Linked DNA regions of Homo sapiens: region 1 is linked to region 2. Evidence: promoter capture Hi-C in human tissues and cell types (Jung and others, 2019). All regions are on one chromosome and are shown on one strand. Each heading gives the region's core, a stretch centred on a gene start or on the middle of the fragment in contact. The rest is flanking DNA. Distances are from core to core; before and after follow the strand shown.

Region 1 (4,903 bases), core at 2,256-4,755, 1.2 Mb after region 2:
GTCAAACATTCCCACTGTTTAGATTCTGCATGAAAAAAAAAAAACAAAAACAAAAAAAACAAAAAACAAAGCAAAAAGAAAAAACCCCAAAGAATCCTTATAGAACAAGCAAGAAAAAAATTTAAAAATATCCTATCCCCCAAATAAATGCAAAGCAACCTCTTGATAACAGATCAGTATATAATTATCATTACATACTGTCAATATGTGTCTCAAAACCTAATTCTTGACAGTAGCGTAGAGGCACATCAGGGAGTTTCCTCTCCTTCCCCCAGTATCAGTGGGAGTAAGAGAAATAATTACACTGAAGCATAGTAGGAAGAAGGAATTATCAGGGCAAGGCACACTGCAGCAAAAAAGTCATTTCAACAACACCATCGCAAGACCATTTCATAAGATACGGTCAGTTAAAAAAAAAAAACTTCTAAGAAATGTCATAATTGCAAGGTCAGATAAATAGATGACACTCCCTTTTCTTCGAGGAAAGCATCTGAGAACTACATGCACATTGAAATTTTTAGAAAATAAGAAAGTATATCAAATCTTAAATCTTGTTTACAAGGTTCTGTCACTTCCTAGCAATGTGGCTTCAGGCAAGTTTAGCTTGCCTTCAGCCTTATTTTCCTCATCTGGACTATATTAGTACATATCTGGCAAACTGAGAATTCGGTAATACGACTAAGTGCCTAGCTCTTTTATCTCAACAAGGAAAAAAGGGATTAGGAGATGTTTAGCGTTACTCAGTCTAAAAGTTCTGTTTGATGGAGCCCTAAGAGAGGTGTTTTAATTGCTAAGCAAAGATAGAGAAGTAGAAAGAGCAAATACACAAGGTTGCAGGAAAAACGTTTCCATCTTCTACATTCTTAATCCGTGAAAACAATTTGAGAGAGAGAGAGAAAAAAGAAGAGGGTCCTCCTTCTGAAGTCAGTAACAGATACACCACTGGAGAAAATGCTAACAGTTCCCCCCCACCCCACCCACTGATAGACCATTAGAAGAAAAAGAGGTTAGGGGAGAAGAAATAGGATTAAGAAAATTGCTACTGTCAGATTTGATGACTCAGGTAGATAACTGTTAAAAATGTTTTTCCAACTCCACTTTTCAGTGTGTCGTTCTGCTTATTTACATGTACACATGCCACTGTCAACCAATTCCTGTAATTAACCAAGATTAAATCAGGATTCACGATGAAAACAAAAACTTTATTACTTTAAGACAACTATAGCTTAATAATATATTAAAAATATATAAAAGTGTATCAAATTTAAATATTTAGTAAAATTTAATAGTTTTGGCTTTGTCCATTCTTCTTGCATGTGCATACATACTGATTTGTATTTCAGAGTATATGCTTAAGAGTATAAGCAAAAACGAAACAAAAAATTTCTAAAACATATGCCACATGGCTTTATGGTCCCCCAGTCAGAACTAACAACAACTTACCTTCAAGTTTTTTAAGCAGCAATTCTATCACAGATAAAGCTTCTGTTCTCACAGATGAGTAGGTCTTATTTTCTAAAAAGAAATATCATACAGTTCATATGGCCTGCCTGAAAAACACAACCTCCAAGATTAAATTTGTGTTGCTGAAAGAAAGATGTCCAGAAATTACAACTCTAGGGAAGGGTATATCTGATTTTTTTTTTTTAAAGGAAGCTTCCCTTTGCTAAGTATCAAATACTTGAAATGTGTGCTAATGTCCACAGTCTTTACTTTGGAAAAACAAAAACCTGTCAGCCAAGTATACCAATCACCACAACAAATGGCAATATTTAAATGATCCATTTTAGAAGTGGGAGATGAAAAAACTATCTCAAACACAAAATCATCTTCGTATCACGGATAAGAACGATCCTTAGGTCTACATGACCCTCCTCATTTTACCAAAGAACATTATATGACCCAGTGTTTAAGCCGATCAGGGACACCTGGAACTCAGCAAAGAGAGGTCTGTTGGCTGCCTGTTCTTTATCCATAAAAGGATGCTGCTGCCAACAACTGCGAATGAAACATGCTTCCTTGGCATCCACTCTTTGACACGGCGTCTGGTTCATGGTGAAATTGTCTACCAAAAAAATCAACACACAACCAAGCCCAAAGCAGGGTAGGCATGAGATGGGCCTTATCATCTTGTTATGCTACAAAGTACAAAAGTGCTACAAAGAGTGACGGTGACCTGTCAAAAGGACACAGGAGGCAGCTTGAAAGGGCTTCCACTGGCCAAATCTGGGACAACTGGAATAACGAATTAGATTTAAAAAATTAAATTATAAACCATTTGAAGGGGGAAAGATTCCATGAATCAATGCCAGTAACAGATAAATAAAAACATGGGCAGAAGAGAAGAATCTTGCTTACAACAGAATTCCAACTATCAAATGGTGAATGTGGACAAAGTGCTAGAGTTGCAAAATCATCTTAGTAAAAATTGGTTCAGGGAAGAATCATCAATGCATGCTAAATATAGAGAAGAAATTTTAAAGAAGAGAAACAAATTACTTGAATGATCTTAAGATCTGTTCCCACAGGCTACTTATTAGACACAAAAAGAAAACATAGTAACTATCCAGTAGAGAAAAACTGATAGTACCTTGACCAGGTAATCAAAATTAACATCACAAATGATGACAGATGGACACTGTGTGCCTCTTAATGTGAGGACACATCACTTATGTATGTATCCCAACTGGGAATTCACAACCTGGATATAATCATGAGAAAACATCAAACACCAAATGAGAAACATTCTGTTTTTTCAAAAAGGGAAGTCGGGGGGACTTTATTCTTCAAAATTGTCAATGTCCTAAGACAAAGAAAGGCTGACGAAGTATTCCAGATTGAAGGAGACTAAAAATATATGACAATAAAATTCAATAAATAATCCTGGAGGCCAAGGCGGGCAGATCACTTGAGGTCAGGAGTTCAAGACCAGCCTAGCCAACATGGTGAAACCCCGTCTCTACTAAAAATACAAAAATTAGCCAGGCATGATGGCACACACCTGTAATTCCAGTTACTTGGGAAACTGAGGCAGGAGAATCACTTAAACCCAGAAGGCAGAGTTGCAGTGAGCCAAGATCACGCCACTGCACTCCAGCCTGGGTGACAGAGCAAGACCCTGTCTCAAAAATAATAATAACCATTATCATCATCATCATCATCATCATCATCATCATCATCACCTGGACTGGATTCCCTAATGGAGGGGAGGGGGAAAAAATCCTATAAAGAACATTACTGGCTGGGTGTGGTGGCTCATGCCTATAACTCCAGTACTTTGGGAGGCCAAGGCAGGTGGACTGCTTGAGCTCAGGAGTTTTGAGACCAGCCTGGCCAACTTCGTGAAGCCCTGTCTCTACAAAAATACAAAAATCAGCTGGGCGTGACAGTACACACTTGTAATCCCAGCTACTTGGGAGACTGAGGCAGGAGGACTGCTTGAACCTGGAAGGTAGAGGTTGCAATGAGCTGAGATCACACCACTGCACTCCAACCTGAGTGACAGAGCGAGACTCCAACTCAAAAAAAATAAAAATAAAAATAAAGAACATTACCGAATCAACTGAACAAACTAGAATATGAACGATAAACATTTGATTTAAAAAACTGCATCCATGTTTACTACCTAAAGTTGACAACTGTACCGTGGCACACTAAATAATTGAGGAACAAGGGGGCCTGAAGTAAGCAACATACTTTCAAATGGTTCAGGAGAAAAACATGTATATAGAAGTCCAAATGACAAAGCAAATGGCACAAAATGTTAACAAATGATTCTGCATAAAGTGTATACATATTGCAGAGTATTACATGTACTGTCGTTGCAACCATTCTGTAAGTTTGAAATTACTTTCAAGTAACAATTTTGTAAAAATACTTGTCACGAAGGTTTTTCTAAACTAGATGCTAAAATCCTGTTATAGTTCCAGATTTAAATATTCCAGTTAAGGGGTACACATGGAGTATAATAAGTAGCAGAGTCCAGTAGCTATTTCAGAAATTTAGTTCCTAAGACAAAGTAGGAAATATTTGAAGCTCAGCTCCTTAGCTTTAAAATTAGGACTCCCTCATCAGTTTTAGTTTACTACACTCACCTAAAGAATATGTGATTGATTTACAAGTTTCAAGCAGAATTTCAGCCAAAGCCTCAGGATCGGCATGTTCTTCTTCCAAAAGCATTAACCTATACAAATCAGAAAGCAAGGTACAAATGCCAATTATTAAGAAACAGTCTAAAACTTTCCTGTCACAATTTCTATCTGTATGTATCACTGTCACTTTAGCTACCAGTTTTTAAATGTATAAAAATTCCATTGATTATACATAAAATGCTGCGGGGAGGAACAAAATAAAAAACTGAGCCATGAAGCAATTTACCCCTGAAAAAAGGCATTCATTGATTGCAGGACTCCTAGCTGCACTTTCCACGTGCTGAGTTTTAGCCGTTCACACATCAGTTTGCACAGCTCCTGACGATAACAACCTGGGAAAAAAAGACAAGGTGGGACAGAGCAGGAGACAGTATAAAAGAACAAGAGATGGAATAAATGAGGGACAGGCAGAGAGAGCAAGAGAAAGGAAGAGGGAAAGAGAAAGAGAGAAGGTGGGGAGGATAAGAGAGAGAAAAGCAGGAAAAAGAGAAATAAAACAATAAATACTTTTAATTAAAGCCATTGAAATTTCCCCAAAAACTTCAGCATGACTTTGTACTCAATCCCCAAACAAATTTCCTTGATCAGAAACTGCCCCCACAAAGGTGCAATATAATTGTTCACAAATATTCACTTTCAAGGCATATGGTTCTCCATGGAACTGAGAAAGCACTTTAACCACACTCCCTTTGCCCCTCAAAACTCCCTGAATGACAGCCACAGAAAGAACTCTGGAGGCCAGAAGCTCCTCT
Region 2 (4,620 bases), core at 920-3,419:
GAGGTTTCAGTGAGCCGAGATTGCACCCCACTGCACTCCAGCCTGGGCAACAGAGTGAGAATCTGTCTCAAAAAAAAAAAAATGTGGAACTGCAAACTGCTGAAAGTGCCCTGAATGACCCTGACCTAGCTGGGAGGTCAGAAGTCTTCTCGGAGAAAGCCACACCTGGGCACTCCTTGCATGAACCATAATTTAGCACCTAGTAATGATGGGAAAGGGGGTACCGAGTTACCAAGAGCAGGAGAAAGGACGAGCACAGGGTATAGTGAATTCTCTGGGGGCATGTTGAATTTGAGATGTCTTTGGATCATCCCCACTAAGCAATTAGATTTGTGAGTCTGAATTGCAGGTGTATTAAGCATTGTGTTTCCATTTGATAGGGATTTAAATTGATAAATGTTTGTTGAATAACTGAATGAATAAATACCCTCAAGGGTGGGATAGAGCTTTAGGAACCTTTCAGTTTATGCCCTGCAGAGATGGTGACTGTTTGGCTGTGCCAGTTCACTCCTGCCAGGAACGAGGATTCCATTGGTTGGCAACAGCCCAGGTAATGGGAGATGGGCTCCTTCAGCTCAGAGGTGCCACTTTTGTTCCCAAAAGGCAGCACACTTCCTGCCCTAGACAGAGAGGTCCCTCTGGCCCCTGATTCCTGCCCAGTCTGGCCTGGCAAAGGGCAGCCCAAAGAGTCTACTGAACTCTACAAATAACCACAGAATCCCACAGAGCCCAGCTTTGACCTTTCAGGGTATCTTCCCTTCTCCCTCAACCTGTTCCTCTGTTAGAGGAGGAAGGGCTGGGATTTGACATGCCCTTGCTTTCTGAGCCCTGTGCCTCTAACTCCCTCCTGGAATGAAATCTGAGTTCCTAAAGGGAGGAGGTTTCTCCCCATGAGGGGGTTTCTGTGTCCAATCACACCTCCCTGCCTGATGTTTGAGGCTGGATGAGCCTGGGATGCCTCATGGGTCTCTGAGCCCTAGGCGTCCTCTGGCCCAGACAGTTCCCAGGCTGTTGGGAACGCCATGTCTTCTACCTCCAGAGTGAATTTCTCTGGTTTGTAGGAGGTGCCTTAGTTAGACCCAGCCAGGAAGCAGAGCTCCTATCGCCATACCTGGGCTAGCAGGGGGGCCAAGCCTGGCTCACCAGGCTGACCAGTCTAGCAAGATTAGAACATCAGAGCAGAGGCCAGGAACAGTGCTGGCAGCCAGGTGCTTGGCTGAGGCCCCTGGCTCCCTTAGCAGGTGGGACAGCTGAGCAGAGCTGCCCTGAGCCCGCCTCCCCTGCTCTTCCCCACTGGGAGGGAGGGCTGGCAAAGCCCTGGCTCTGCCTCCCTGCAGCTCTGCCACTCAGGTCTCCCATGGTAAGTCTCTCCTTCCCCAGCACCTGTCCATTCCTACCTTTTGGAAGCACCAGGAGGTGGGCCTGGGTCCTCTGCTGCCTCTTCAAGCCTTCATACTGGGCTCGCAGGAACTGGATGCTGAGTGGGGGCCCTTTCCCAGGGGCCTGAGTCCTGGAGCCCTCAGCCATTAAGTGAGACCTAAGCTGCCAGAAGTGGGGCAGGGCTGGGCACGGGCAGGGCAACCCCTCCATCCGGATCCGGGAGAAAAGCAAACACAGCTGGGTGGGGCAGGACCTGGGGAGGGGAGAGAGAGGGAGGGGGCAGTGAGGGAGAAGGAGAAGTGACGGGCAAAAGGAGGGTGGAAAGAGGAGTGGGACTGAGGAAGGAGATAGAAAAATAAGGGGGAAGGAGAAAGATGAAGGGGAAGAGGAGGTAGGGATAGGGAGAAATGTGGGGGAGGAGAAAGGTGGGAGACAGTGGCAGTAAGAGGAGAAGGAAATGTCAGAGGAAAGAAGGGGCAGCGAAGGGGGAAAGACTGGAGGAAGGAGGTGATAGTGACAAGCGGGGATTAATGGGGCGAGAGAAGAAAGAGAGGGAGGAAGATGGAGACAGGCAGGAGGAGGCAGGGAAAGGAGTGATGGGGAGTGGGAGACCGAGAAGTAAGGGGAGGACTGGGGGAGCAAAGAGAAAGGCAAGCCCAGCTGCTCAGAGCCCTTCAGGGGGGTCAAGAAGGTGTCTTATTCCAGGTCCTTCCATTGCTTGATCCTAAAGTTTAGAATCCAATTCCCAGTGCCACGGTGAAGTCTCCCCTTTCCTGGCAGAGCTGGGACTGGGGCTGGGGAGTGCTAAGCTCGCGCTCTGCTCACACATTTTGGACTGGAACGTGGCCACTTTTCAGCAAACCTGCCGGTTGGGTTTGCAGTAGTTCAAAGAACACCCTCGGGAGCTTCACAAGGTCGGTGCCTCTGGATGTGTGCCCCGCGGCCACACCCTAAAGAAACCCAGTAGCAAAGATCTCCCCAAGATCTCCACTCAGACCCCAACACACACCCCAGGTGAAAATTCAGCCCTAAAGTCAGCCATGGGACAGAGCCCAGGGGAATCTTGGCCTCGGGCCAGCCCTACCCCTTGGACATTTGGTGCAGCCTCTGCCGTCTCAGCATTCTCCAACCAAGTGGTAAGTTAGGCATCCCCTCACTCTCTGCTTGCCAGCCTCAACATTTCCACATTGCTTTTGAATCCCAGACCCTCTCCCTCTTACACCAGCTTTGACCTAGCCTTGCTGCATTTGGTCAACTAAGTCCCTTTCTATCTTCTCCTATCACGGTGCTTACTGATTACCCAATTACCCAATATGTCTACAGAGGCAATGGAAACAGAGTAGAGCCTGAACCTACAAGACATTTTGGACATTAACCAGACAAGATCTAGTCATTTGATGTGGGGGAGCCGTGGAAGATGGAGAGCAAATCTTCACTGGGTAGTATATGTTAGTTTTGCTAGGGCTGCCATAACGAAATCCCACAAACTGGATGTCTTAAACAACAAACATTATTGTCTCAGAGTTCTGGAGGTTAGAAGTCCAAAGTCAAGGTGTGAGCAGGGTTGGTTTCTTCTTGGAGCTGTGTGAGAGTATCTGTTCCATGCCTCTCACCTTGCTTCTGATGGTTTGCTAGCAATCTCTGGTATTCTTTGGCTTGCAAAAACATTGCCTAATCTCTGCCTTTATCTTGACATGATGTTCTTCCTTTTTATTTTTTTATTTTATTTTTTTTTTGAGAGGGAGTCTCACTCTGTCGCCCAGGCTGGAGTGCAGTGGCGTAATCTCAGCTCACTGCAAGCTCTGCCTCCCGGGTTCGCATCATTCTCCTGCCTCAGCCTCCCGAGTAGCTGGGACTACAGGCACCCGCCACCGCGCCCAGCTAATTTTTTGTATTTTTCGTAGAGACAGGGTTTCACCGTGGTCTCGATCTCCTGACCTTGTGATCCGCCCGCCTTGGCCTCCCAAAGTGCTGGGATTACAGGCGTGAGCCACCACACCCGGCCTAATATGATGTTCTTCCTATGTGGGTGTCTCTGTGCCCAATTTTCCCCTTTTTATAAGTACAGCAATCACATTGGATTAGAGCTCAATCTGTCTCAAAAAAATACCGAGAGAGATAGCCAAAGCTTCCTCATACCTTTTTATCGGTAGATCACTCTATCATGAAGGCAAGAGCAACCCATCCATGCTGGACCAGCTGCACCTGCCATGAAATCATGGCAGTAGACATCATGGCAGTAGGCTGGCCACAATGGCTCACAACTGTAATCCCAGCACTTTGGGAGGCTGAGGTGGGTGTATTGATTGTGCCCTGGAGTTCAGGACCAGCCTGGGCAACATAGTGAAACTCTGTATCTACAAAAATTAGCCAGGCATGGTGGCACATGCCTGTAGTCCGAGCTACTCGGGTGGCTGAGGTGGGATGATCACTTGAACCCAGAAGCTCGAGGCTGAAATGAGCCATGATTGCACCACTGTACTTCAGCCTGGGTAACAGAGTGAGCTCCTGTCTCAGAAAGAAAAGAGAAGAGAAGAGAAGAGAAGAGAAGAGAAGAGAAGAGAAGAGAAGAGGAGGAGAGAAATAATGGCAGTAGAAATTTCTACTATATTTTCGCATTTACTTGTCAGCCTTCATCTTTTAGTATTAACAGTTTTTGTCTTTTTCTATATGGGTGCGTTTGTGGATATTTTGATGAGAAGTAAATTGAGGCTGTCTACTGCTGATTGAATGCCTTTTAGGAGCTTAAATTCCTTCTTTTAGTTCATATAGTTCCTCTTTCTTTTAAAACTCAAATCTTTAATCCATTTGAAATTTATTTTGGTGTTGTGTTAGGTATAAGGCAAGGATCTAGGGGTTTTTTCCTCCAAATAATTGACCAGTTGTTTCAATAGCACTTACTGAATAAACTTTCCTTTCCTTGGTCTGTGATAACAATAACAATAGTATAAGAAAAAACTGGCAACTCTATCTCATCCCAGGGAGTCTTCAGAAATAAATGAAAAAAGATGATCAAGCCTGGAGTTTGTTCTGGGTGGCTGCCACTAAATGGGTGACTTTCATTATCCAGGTATATCCTTCAGAGGAACTGGAAATAAGCTTCAAAGTTGTTCAGGGCTGGAGACGCTGGAGTAGGAATAAGATGTCTTGTGATTCTAGGGAATATTTTGTTTTTCTGTATATATGTAAACTGTATGGAACATGAAATGTCCCATTCTGGTTGAGAGATAAGACTGTGCT

What was found. Contacts are between HindIII fragments. The study calls those that stand out against the background at their distance.
Region 1: a contact is called between a fragment that was not itself captured here and the fragment with the promoter of C9orf152 in region 2, in 1 of the 25 tissues and cell types used here (spleen).

The regions. Positions count from the first base shown.
Region 1 is chr9:111,362,145-111,367,047 of GRCh38, forward strand. It overlaps ECPAS (Ecm29 proteasome adaptor and scaffold), which reads right to left. Exons shown (of 50, transcript NM_001364929.1): 47 at 4,378-4,483; 48 at 4,095-4,183; 49 at 1,444-1,515; 50 at 1-25. Among named protein-coding and RNA genes, the nearest start is that of OR2K2, 34 kb to the left of the region's middle. The HindIII fragment of the contact is 3,873 bases long and covers 1,570-4,903 here.
Region 2 is chr9:110,205,990-110,210,609 of GRCh38, forward strand. C9orf152 (chromosome 9 open reading frame 152) reads right to left here and starts at 2,170. Exons shown (of 2, transcript NM_001012993.3): 1 at 1,398-2,170. The coding sequence starts at 1,590. RefSeq lists enhancers at 839-1,339, 1,340-1,840. The HindIII fragment of the contact is 9,571 bases long and covers 1-3,993 here.